Regions from separate parts of the Homo sapiens genome. Here region 1 is linked to region 2. Evidence: promoter capture Hi-C in human tissues and cell types (Jung and others, 2019). All regions are on one chromosome and are shown on one strand. Each heading gives the region's core, a stretch centred on a gene start or on the middle of the fragment in contact. The rest is flanking DNA. Distances are from core to core; before and after follow the strand shown. Region 1 overlaps LINC01061 (long intergenic non-protein coding RNA 1061). Region 2 holds the start of FABP2 (fatty acid binding protein 2).

What was found. Contacts are between HindIII fragments. The study calls those that stand out against the background at their distance.
Region 1: a fragment that was not itself captured here is called in contact with the fragment with the promoter of FABP2 in region 2 in 2 of the 25 tissues and cell types used here (H1 embryonic stem cells and dorsolateral prefrontal cortex).

Annotation. Positions count from the first base shown.
Region 1 is chr4:119,403,006-119,408,234 of GRCh38, forward strand. LINC01061 (long intergenic non-protein coding RNA 1061) reads right to left here. Exons shown (of 3, transcript NR_037596.1): 3 at 2,518-5,229. It also overlaps the pseudogene LOC100131884. Among named protein-coding and RNA genes, the nearest start is that of LINC01061, 5.0 kb to the right of the region's middle. The HindIII fragment of the contact is 5,109 bases long and covers 1-4,713 here.
Region 2 is chr4:119,319,962-119,326,076 of GRCh38, forward strand. FABP2 (fatty acid binding protein 2) reads right to left here and starts at 2,177. Exons shown (of 4, transcript NM_000134.4): 1 at 2,075-2,177; 2 at 709-881. The coding sequence starts at 2,141. The HindIII fragment of the contact is 4,027 bases long and covers 1,554-5,580 here.

The DNA.
Region 1 (5,229 bases), core at 909-3,408, 83 kb after region 2:
CTTTTTAAGGAATTGTATGTATATATAGTGTATGTATATACCAATTTCATTTATCCATTCATTAATCCAGCACATGGCCAGTGAGGACATAGCGAATGACGAGGAGCACATGGTCATCCATGAGGAGGAGGGGGTGATGATGTCATTGCTGATGACGGCTTTAGCACCACTGACACTGATCTCAAGTTCAAGGAGTGGGTGACCGACTGAGAGTGGGGACAGCTCTGGGGAGGAGCCAGAGCGCAACAAGGGCTTTCATGGGAAGGTATTTGCACCTGTCATTCCTTCCTCCTTTACTCCTGCCGCCCCTTGCTGAATCCTGAGCCCCCAGGGTCCCCCGATCCACCTGCAGTTTTTGGCAAAGTCTATGGTCCCACCCCGTCCTTCTCCTACACATTCTCGGATGCTTCCTCCTCAACCTTGGCACCCACCTCCTTCTTACTGGGCCCAGGAGCCTTCAAAGCCCAGGAGTCTGGTCAGGGCAGCAGAGCGGGCCCCCTACGGCCCCTACCCCTGGGGATGGGGGCCCAGGGACGCCTTCCAAGGTGACCTGTTTCCTCCCAATGGATCCTGCCACCTTCTGGTGCAAGAGACCTGAAAGTGTGGGCGACCTGGAGCTACCAGGCCCCTCAGTCATTGTGGTCCCTCCCAACACTAAGGCTTTCCTAGGCAGGAGCTGGGCTGAGCCACCCAGGGGGCAGAGCCTGAAGAGGAGAAACTGGGCTTTGGGGGTTGGGGCAGAGGGAACCCCACGGACATGGATCCCGCACTGGCGGACCCCACCACACCCAAATGCAAGATGAGAAGATGCTCCAGCTGCAGCCCAAAGCCCAACACCCCCAAGTGTGCCATGTGTGATGGGGACAGCTTCCCCTTTGCCTGTACAGGTGGAGAAGCCGAGGACGGGCTCAGGGAACCGGAGACGGAGAAGGCGCTGTCCTCTTCACTGCACGCGCCCTGGACCAGTGCTGGCCTTGATCATGCAGCTCTTCCAGGCCCACTGCTTCTTCCTGTCCACTAGGCCACAGCTGCCCTCCAGGCCCACTATGCACACATCTTCCCCTCCAAGGTTTGTTCTGCCCCTGCCCTGACTCCCAGCCCTGCGGGGGTCCTGACCCCACCTCACCTGGCTCAGACTCTGATGCTGCCCTGGCTGCCCCACCACTGCCTCTGCCCGAGAGTCACGTGAGGCTGAGAGTAGGGGCAGGGGCAGCAGTGGTGCCAGTTGGGGGGCGGTCCAGTGGGAGGAGCCTCAGCCTCGTGGGCTGTTCCGTGGGACTGATGACTGCATGATCTTCTGGGCACCTCACGGATCTTCAACTGCAGGTGAAACGGATGCTGGTGGTGGGTGCAGGGCCACTGGGAGCCGCTGCATGGTCCCAGAGGCTGGACTGGGGCAGGTGCCAACTGAAGCTGCTGGGGCAGCATGGGCAGGATGTTCTGCACACAAACCTTGGAGAAGAAAATGTGTGCATAGCGGGTCCACTGCTGCTGCCCCTGCCCTGACTCCCAGCCCTGCCTGACCCCACCTCACCCTGCTCAGGCTCTGGTGCAACTCTGGGTGCCTTGCCCCTGCCTCTGCCCCAGAGTTGGGGCCTCGACAGCCTGGCTGGAAGGGGACACCCCAGCCCTGCCTCAACACCTGGGTCCCTCCATAACTACCACAGGCAGATGGGCGACCCCAAAGAAGATCCCAGGACTCACAGTACCCCCTGAGAACATGGACAGTATGTGGGGGTAGCCATGGAGGTCAGGATGGTTATCTTCTCCCGGGTAAAGCCATTTAATCCTTTCAGTTTGGGATGGAATAAGGCCTGCTTTTTTTAATTTTTTTTTGAGACGGAGTCTTGCTCTGTCGCCCAGGCTGGAGTGCAGTGGTGCGATCTTGGCTCACTGCAACCTTTTCCTGCCTGGTTCACGCAATTCTCCTGCCTCAGCCTTCCGGGTAGCTGAGATTACAGGTACACGCTACCACGTCCGGCTAATTTTTGTATTTTTAGTACAGACGGGGCTTCACCATCTTGGCCAGGCTGATTTCGATCTCCTGACATCGTGATCCGCCTGCCTCCACCTCCCAAAGTGCTGGGATTACAGGTGTGAGCCACCAGGCCTGGCCAAGGCCTGCTCCTCTTATATATACCCACTATCCCTGCAGCTGTACCGGGGGAAAGCTTGGCAGTTTCCCTCCTCCGAGCCCCTGTACATATCATGAAGTGTGGGACCTTCAGAGCTTTTCACTTTTCGGAAAATAGCTCCTGCTGGGGCTACAGGATGGAGTGTGAAGAGGGCCTTGGGCCACAGGGAGGTGCCTGTCGACTATGGGGAGTTCATGCACCCCTTCTTTCCCCAGAGGGGCTGGACTCAGGTGAGTATGGGGGTGGAAGCTCCTGCACTTCGACACAGGCAGCGGGAGGGTTTTCTCCCCATTCCCTCTGCTATCCCAACTTGAGTTGTACTTTTTAAGAAAGTGATTCACCCTGCCTTTGCCCCCTTCCCCAGAACAGAACACGTTGATCACGGGGATATTTTTTATTGTGCCAGAAAGTTGCCATGACCGTCATTAAACCTGTTTAACACCAAATAATAAGGAAAATAAAATAAAAAATTCGGGCTTGGTGCAGAAACTCACTCCAAATAAATTACCTACCAAAATATTTATATAATGATGGAAATATTCCAAAATTCCATATTTTGGGATTTATACACAAAAGATAAAAAAATTAGAGTCCAAGAGGCTGCCAGAAGTGAAAAACGGGGCCTGGAAAGGCCGTTGTGAGGAATAAGCTGGGCCTAAAGAGGCCACTGGCAGGCGGGAGCTGGGCCTGCAGAAGCGGCCGAAAGGCAGGAGCTTTGGACTGGGGAGGCCGCAGTGAGGCGAGAGCTAGCTGGGCGTGGAGAGTCCGCTGTGAGGCCGAGGCCGAGGCCGGGCCCGTGCAGGCCTTCGGGAGGCAGGAGGCCGGGACTGCAAAGGCCGACTGGAGGTCAAGTTCTGGGCCTGAAGAGGCTGCCAAAAGTCAAAAGCGGGACCTGGGAAGGCCGCTGAGAGCCATGAGCTGGGCTGGGCTGAAAGAGGCCACTGGGAGGCAGGAGGAGCTGGGCCTGGAGAGGCTGACTCGAGGAAGTTTTGCACCTGGAGAGGCCGCCGAGAGGACGGAGCTGGGCCCGGGGAGGCCGACTTGCTGCTCTTCCAGGCCCAATTCCAGGCCGACTTGAGGACGACTTGGGCCTGCAGAGGCCGCCGGGAGGCCCAAGCTGGGCCTAGAGGAGCCCACCGACCGGAGGCCGTTTGGGGCCTGCAGATGCCATCGGAGGGCAGGAGCTGAGCCTGGAGAGGCCACCGTGAGGCCTGACCTGGGCCTGGGGAGCTTGGCTTCAGGAAGCTGTGGGCCGACCAAGGCCGCCAGGAGATGGGTAGGCACTGAGTCCAAAGAGGTTGTTGAGAGGCAGGAGTCGGGCCTGGAGACGCAACCAGGAAGAAGAGCTGGGCCCAGAGAGGACACCCGGAGGGTGCAAGTGGGTCTGGAGAGGCCGACTTGAGGAGGTTCTGGGCCCGGAGAGGCCGCCGGAAGGGAAAAACTGGGCCTGGAAAGGCCGTTGTGAGGAATGAGCCCCATGGGCCTGAAGAGGCCACTGGCAGGCGGGAGCTGGGCCTGCCGAAGCGGCCGAGAGGCAGGAGCTTTGGACTTGGGAGGCTGCAGTGAGGCGAGAGCTAGCTGGGCGTGGAGAGTCTGCTGTGAGGCAGAGGCTGGGCCTGTGCAGGCCTTCGGGAGGCAGGAGGCCAGGCCTTGTCGAGGCCTGCAGAGGCCACCGAAAGTCAAAAGCGGGGCCTGGGAAGGCCGCTGGGAGGCATGAGCTGGGCTGGGCCGAAAGAGGCCACTGGGAGGCAGGAGGAGCTGGGCCTGGAGAGGCTGACTCGAGGAACTTTTGCACCCGGAGAGGCCGCCGAGAGGCCGGAGCTGGGCCTGGGGAAGCCGACTTGAGAACGACTTGGGCCTGCAGAGGCCACCGGGAGGCAGGAGCTGGCCCTGGACAGACTGACTTGACGACAGTCTGGGCCTGCAGAGGCCGCCGAGAGGAAGAGCTGGGCCTGGAGAGGCCGACTGGAGGAAGTCCAGGGCCTGGAGAGGATGCAAAGCAGCAAACACTAGGCCTGGAAAGGCTGCCCTGAGGCATGGGCTTGGCCTACAGAGGCCACTGGCAGGAGCTGGGCCCGCAGAGGCTCCCGAGAGGGAGGAGCATTGCCCCAGGAGGCCACGGTGAGGAAGAGGTGGGCCTGGAGAGCCCACTGTGAGGTAGAGGCCGGGCCTGTAGAGGCCGCCGACAGGCAGGGAATGGGCCTGTTGAGGCCACGAGAGGCATAAGCTGGGCCTCAACAGGCCAGTGTGAGGCAGGAGCTGACACTTGGGCAGGTTGCAAGAGGCATGAGTTGGGCCGAAAGAGGCCACCGTGAGGGAGGAGCTGAGCCTGTACAAGCTGCCAAAAGGCAGGAGCAGCTTTGGACTGGAGAGGCCGCAGACAGGGAAGAGCTGGGTGTGGAGAGTCTGCTGTGAGGCAGAGGCTGGGCCTGTACATGCCCTCGGGAAGCAGGAGGCTGGGCCTGGAGAGGCCGACTTGAGAAAGTTTTGCTCCTGGAGAGGCCACTCAGAGGCAAGAGCTGGGTGTGAAGAGGCTGACTTGAGGTCGATTTTGGCCTGTAGAAGCCACTGGTAGCTAGGAGTTGGCCCTGGAGAGGCTGACCTGAGGACAGTTTTGGCCTGTAGAGGCCACTGGGAGGGAGAGCTTGGTCTGGAGAGGCCAAGTGGAGTAAGTTCAGGGCTTGGAGAGGATGCACAAAAGGAAACGCTCAGCCTGGAAAGTGTGCTGTGAGGCATTAGCTTGGCCTACACAGCACTTGGAGGCAGGAGCTGGGCCTGCAGAGGGTGACTTCAGGACGATTTTGGCCTGCAGAAGCCTTTGGGAGGAAGAGCTTGGCCTGGACCGGCTGACTGGAGGAAGTTTTGGGACTGGAGTATGCATCAAAAAGCAAAAGTTAGGCTAGGAAAGGCCACTTTGCGGCATGATCTTGGCCTACAAAGGCAACTGTGAGGCAGGAGCTGGGCCTGTAGAGGCTGCCGAAAGGCAGGAGCTTGGCCTCAGGAGGCTATGATCAGGCAAGTGGTGGGCCTGGAGGGTCTACTGTGTGGTAAGAGTCTGGGCCTGTGTAGGCCGACATGAGGCAGGAGCTGAGTT
Region 2 (6,115 bases), core at 927-3,426:
TCTTTCATGTTACGTGTCCAGAAATATAGTCATGGTTAAAATTAGTTTCATGGAGATGTTAACAACTCTGTGCTTGTTTTAATTTGTGTGATTGTGGTACTAATTAAAGAAAGACATAACTTATGATAAAACATTCAGTAGTTAAATTGTCATTACAAACATGTAATTTAAATAGAAAAATGTTGAGGCTAAAAAAAGTTTTTAAAAAATTTGTTGAAAATGATGACTTCCTAAAATGTGTTATCTTAAACATGAAAAGGTACACTCCCAATGACCTACAATACATCAAATCTTTCCATTTGGTAACTCACTCATTTGTTCATCTATTCATTTCTTTTATTATTTCAACATGTTAAATTGCTATTACAGTTAAGTTACATATTAACTCTAAAGGCTTCTTTTGCTGTACTGTTTAAAAACACAGTTTTAAATTTCTTTATGAATAGGTCTATATTCAGTCATTCAAAAGATAGTTTTCTAATTCTTACTGTTCAATTCAGATTCTTCACAGATGCGTATAAAAATAAAAACATATTTAAATATCCTGCCAATTTGTGCAATATATAATGTAGACAAACTTCATTGGCTTCTTCAGTTAGTGAAGGAGACCTGCATTAATTAAACCATCCAATGAAATAGAGCAGAAATCATTTTAATATTGGGTAGAAAAATCAAGAATGCATTGCTCATAAAAAAAAAAATTCTTACCCTGAGTTCAGTTCCGTCTGCTAGATTGTAATTAAAGGTGACACCAAGTTCAAAAACAACTTCAATGTTTCGAAAAGTGCTTGATTCTTTGACTGTGAATTTATTTCCTTCTTGTGTAATTGTCAGCTTCAAATTGTCATGAGCTGCAAGCTTCCTTTTCACTATATTAACACCTGTAAAAGGTAAGACAATGGAGAAAATAAAGTCAAATCCCATAGGAAGTGTTTATTTTTCCAAGTTATGTTTTGTTTGTTTATTTTGAGGGTGGGAAGAAAACTCGGTAGCATTGCCTTTGCACAAGAACATTCAGATTGCTTCTACAGAAGTTCAGGTTCAATCAGATCAAGAGAACTGATTAAAGTTGTTTTTCCATAACTTGAGAAAAATTAAGTAGAGTACAGAATTATAGAATCTTAGAGCTGAGCAACCTTAATAAGATTAACAAACTGTTCATTTCAGTGTTAAGTAAATCAAATTCTAGAAATATCAAATGAAGGATTAAAATGTATATTCATATATTTATAAGGAAGCACATCTTTAATTCCACATATACAGTATTCTTTTTTCTTAAATGCCCCTTTGTTTTTCTTAGTGGCTTTAACATTTTGAACTTTATAGTTCTATTTGCTTCTTGTGGCATTTCTTTCTGACACAAAAATGAGAAAATTAGCAAATATTAAGCCAAAATCACTATAAGAATCTACAACTTTTATAAATTTAAACTTAGAGTTCCTAAACTGTAAGCTATAATTGATGCAGATTTTTCTTTTAGGGGAATGACACAAATTTGTTTGCCTATCTTGTATAGTATATGGGCTGCCAGAGTATTGGTATCAAATTATAAATCAGTTAAATTAAACGCCCTGGAGAAAACTACACAGCTTCTCAAGATTATTCCAAAACTTTTTTAAGTTAGAAGAAATCAGAATTAAATCTAACTTATTCAGCGCTATAAATTTTAAGAGAACCTTTTCCATTACTTTCTTATATGGTCTTTGTTTTTCCATCTCCTAGAATTTAACATTTTCAGATCTGGAAGTTATCATTACACGCTGCCATTTTCTTACTGTAAACAACAAAAAAAGTCATTTTTCAGTTAAAGAGGGAAGGAAACATTTCTGGATCTTTTTGGTGTGTTTCAGAGAACAGCACTCAAAGAATCTTTTCTTCCATTAGTGAGATAGTGGATTCTTCCTAATGTAAGAAGGGAGAATATGGTTTCCCTCCTCTGAACATCTTCTGGATCCTCTCTACCACATCAGGAGCTATCTGTAAGCTATCTGTAATCTCCTAGAGATTTAGGAGTTAGAAAGAAAAATGTTTGTAAGAAAGCAAAGAATGAGCCACAAAGAAATAAAGTCTTTACCCATTTTTTCCATGAACTTGTCATAGTTTTCACTCCGGTCTACCTTCCAAGTGCTGTCAAACGCCATGATTTCAGTTGAGTCAGCCTCTAGGCAGCTAGAGATTCAGGTCTGTCCTTGGGCGAGAATTTATTATATTTCTTATCTTAGAACCAACTTCATACTGTGATGTGGAAGCTTAAAGTTCAGGAAATCACCTAACTATGTCAAGCAATTAATTAATTCTTATTAATTAATTCTTAATTCTCGTTCTGTACATTCCTGAGATCTTCTGAAATTCAACTGAATTAAAACATGAGAAGCATACCTATTCTGTCTTAAATTACAGTTTGTGGGCATACTTATTTCAAGAATTAGAATGCATGCCGTCTGAAGATTGTTTTTCTAAGTTCAAAGTGCAGACTATGTTGGAGGTAATATAATTTATAGCATATATCAAATAACATCTGGGAAATGAGACCATGACCTTTCCCTTTTTCACAACAGCAATTATCTTGTAAAGTAAGACTTTATGATGAAATACAGTTGAAAAGTTAAAGTTAATAAGATTCGTTTTCTAATATGTCTTTTTGCATTGTGTTTAGCATTGCCAGGAGTTTGGATAAATATCCTGGCACTTTGTAGGGTGCATGACACACAATAAGTGCTCATTGATTTTTGTCTTGATCCTGAATGGTGATAGGCCACTGAGCAAAAATTCAAGAGGTACAAATGAGGCTGGATGGTGTAAAAACTTGCATAAAAGAAAGAATGAGCTTTAAACATCTGCCATGTGCAGAGAGAACAAAATCCAGTTTTAGCTGTGCCATTAATTAAAACCACTCCTTCATTTTACTCTCAATGCCTCTCATCCCCAAACCCAGTAGAGTCAGAAGCCACAGCTCAATTATGTATGTAGGGTCAGGGTATAGAGGGTAGCTAGAAAGGTACAAAGAAAAGGTCACCATATCTCTCCTTTCCCTACTTCAGGCTGCCAGCCAGGAACAGGCCAAGCTTGGGGAGGAAACTTGGTGTGAAGTAAAGAGTTTTAATTACTAGTCTTAAGATGTTTATTACTAAAATGAGTCTATTATTGTGACTGAATGTGACCAGATAACATCTTATTAACTAAGGGTCAGGAAAGAAGCTCTAGGGCTTGCCCAAGATATTACTTAGGGTCAAGGGAAGATAAATCTAACAGATTTGAACAGAACTTTGGGGAACAGAATCCCAGTTTTTAAATTTTGATATTATTTTATATTTTGATTTTTAAAAATCTTTTAAACATGTTAGATATTGTTTGATTTTTTATTTCGAGTTGCCCACTTTTTATTTTATTAAGTAAGCACTTTAAAAAGCAAACTATTTTCTACTAGCTCTATTATTTCATTAAAAAAGAAAAAGAGGCCGGGCGCGGTGGCTCGCGCCTGTAATCCCAGCACTTTGGGAGGCCGAGGCGGGCGGATCACGAGGTCAGGAGATCGAGACCATCCTGGCTAACACGGTGAAACCCCGTCTCTACTAAAAATGCAAAAAAAATTAGCCGGGCGTGGTGGTGGGCGCCTGTAGTCCCAGCTGCTCGGGAGGCTGAGGCAGGAGAATGGCGTGAACCCGGGAGGCGGAGCTTGCAGTGAGCCGAGATCGTGCCACTGCACTCCAGCCTGGGCGACAGAGCGAGACTCCGTCTCAAAAAACAAAAAAACAAAAAAACAAAAAAACAAAAAACAAAAAAAAACAAAAAAGAAAAAGAGTTGCCTGGTGCAGTGGTTCTTGCCTGTAATCCCAGCTATTAGAGAGGCTGAGGCAGGAGAATCACTTCAGGCCAGGAGTTCGAAACCAGCAGTTTGAGGCCAGCCTAAGCAACATAGGGAGAGCCTGGCTGTAACAATTATAATAAAATAAATTAGCCAGGTGTAATGGCACATGCCTGTAGTCCCAGCTACTTGGGAGGCTAAGGCGGGAAGATCTCTTGATCCCAGGAGTTGGAGATTGCAATGAGTTGTGATCATGCCAGTACACTCCAGCCTGGGCAACAGAGAGATCCCATCTCTAAAAAATAAATAATTTTTTAAATGTCAAAAAAGGAAAGAAAACACATATACACACTCATGAGTTGGGGACAAAGGTCATAATGGGAAGTCCTTTACATTCATAATTTAGCTTTACTTTCAAAATTAGGTACATTGTGATTTTTTAATCTTTTTTCAAAGAATTAAAACTGTATCACTTGGGAGCTATCAACCTAATACACTTTCTTTCTTTTTTTATTACACTTTAAGTTTTAGGGCACATGTGCACAACGTGCAGGTTTGTTACATATGTACACATGTGCCATGTTGGTGTGCTGCACCCATTAACTCGTCATTTAACATTAGGTATACCTCCTAATGCTATCCCTACCCCCTCCCCCCACCCCATAACAGGCCCCGGTGTGTGATGTTCCCCTTCCTGTGTCTAAGTGTTCTCATTGTTCAATTCCCACCTATAAGTGAGAACATGCGGTCTTTGGTTTTTTGTCCTTGCGATAGTTTGCTGAGAATGATGGCTTCCAGCTTCATCCATGTCCCTACAAAGGACATGGACTCATCATTTTTTATGGCTGCATAGTATTCCATGGTGTATATGTGCCACATTTTCTTAATCCAGTCTATCATTGTTGGACATTTGGGTTGGTTCCAAGTCTTTGCTATTGTGAATAGTGCCCCTATAAACATATGTGTGCATGTGTCTTTATAGCAGCATGTTTTATAATCCTTTGGTTATATACCCAGTAATGGGATGGCTGGGTCAAATGGTATTTCTAGTTCTAGATCCCTGAGGAATCGCCACACTGACTTCCACAAGGGTTGAACTAGTTTACAGTCCCCTCAACAGTGTAAAAGTGTTCCTATTTCTCCACATCCTCTCCAGCACCTGTTGTTTCCTGACTTTTTAATGATTGCCATTCTAACTGGTGTGAGATGGTATCTCATTGTGGTTTTGATTTGCATTTCTCTGATGGCCAGTGATGATGAGCATTTTTTCATGTGTCTTTTGGCTGCATAAATGTCTTCTTTTGAGAAGTGTCTGTTCATATCCTTCGCCCACTTGTTGATGTGGTTGTTTATTTTTTTCCTGTAAATTTGTTTGAGTTCATTGTAGATTCTGGATATTAGCCCTTTGTCAGATGAGTAGATTGCAAAAATTTTCGCCCATTCTGTAGGTTGCCTGTTCACCCTGATGGTAGTTTCTTTTGCTGTGCAGAAGCTCTTTAGTTTAATTAGATCTCATTTGTCAATTTTGGCTTTTGTTGCCATTGCTTTTGGTGTTTTTAGTCATGAAGTACTTGCCCATGCCTATGTCCTGAATGGTATTGCCTAGGTTTTCTTCTAGGGTTTTTGTGGTTTTAGGTCTAACATTTAAGTCTTTAATCTATCTTGAATTAATTTTTGTATAAGGTGTAAGGAAGGGATCCAGTTTCAGCTTTCTACATATGGCTAGCCAGTTTTCCCAGCACCATTTATTAAACAGGGAATCCTTTCTCCATTTCTTGTTTTTGTCAGGTTTGTCAAAGATCAGATCGTTGTAGATAAGCAGCATTATTTCTGAGGGCTCTGTTCTGTTCCATTGGTCTATATCTCTATTTTGGTACCAGTACTATGCTGTTTTGGTTACTGTAGCCTTGTAGTATAGTTTGAAGTCAGGTAGCGTGATGCCTCCAGCTTTGTTCTTTTGGCTTAGGATTGACTTGGCAATGTGGGCTTTTTTGGTTCCATATGAACTTTCAAGTAGTTTTTTCCAATTCTGTGAAGAAAGTCATTGGTAGCTTGATGGGGATGGCATTGAATCTATAAATTACTTTGGGAGGATGGCCATTTTCACGATATTGATTCTTCCTACCCATGAGCATGGAATGTTCTTCCATTTGTTTGTATCCTCTTTTATTTCATTGAGCAGTGGTTTGTAGTTCTCCTTGAAGACGTCCTTCATATCCCATGTAAGTTGGATTTCTGGGTATTTTATTCTCTTTGAAGCAATTGTGAATGGGACTTCACTCATGATTTGGCTCTCTGTTTGTCTGTTAT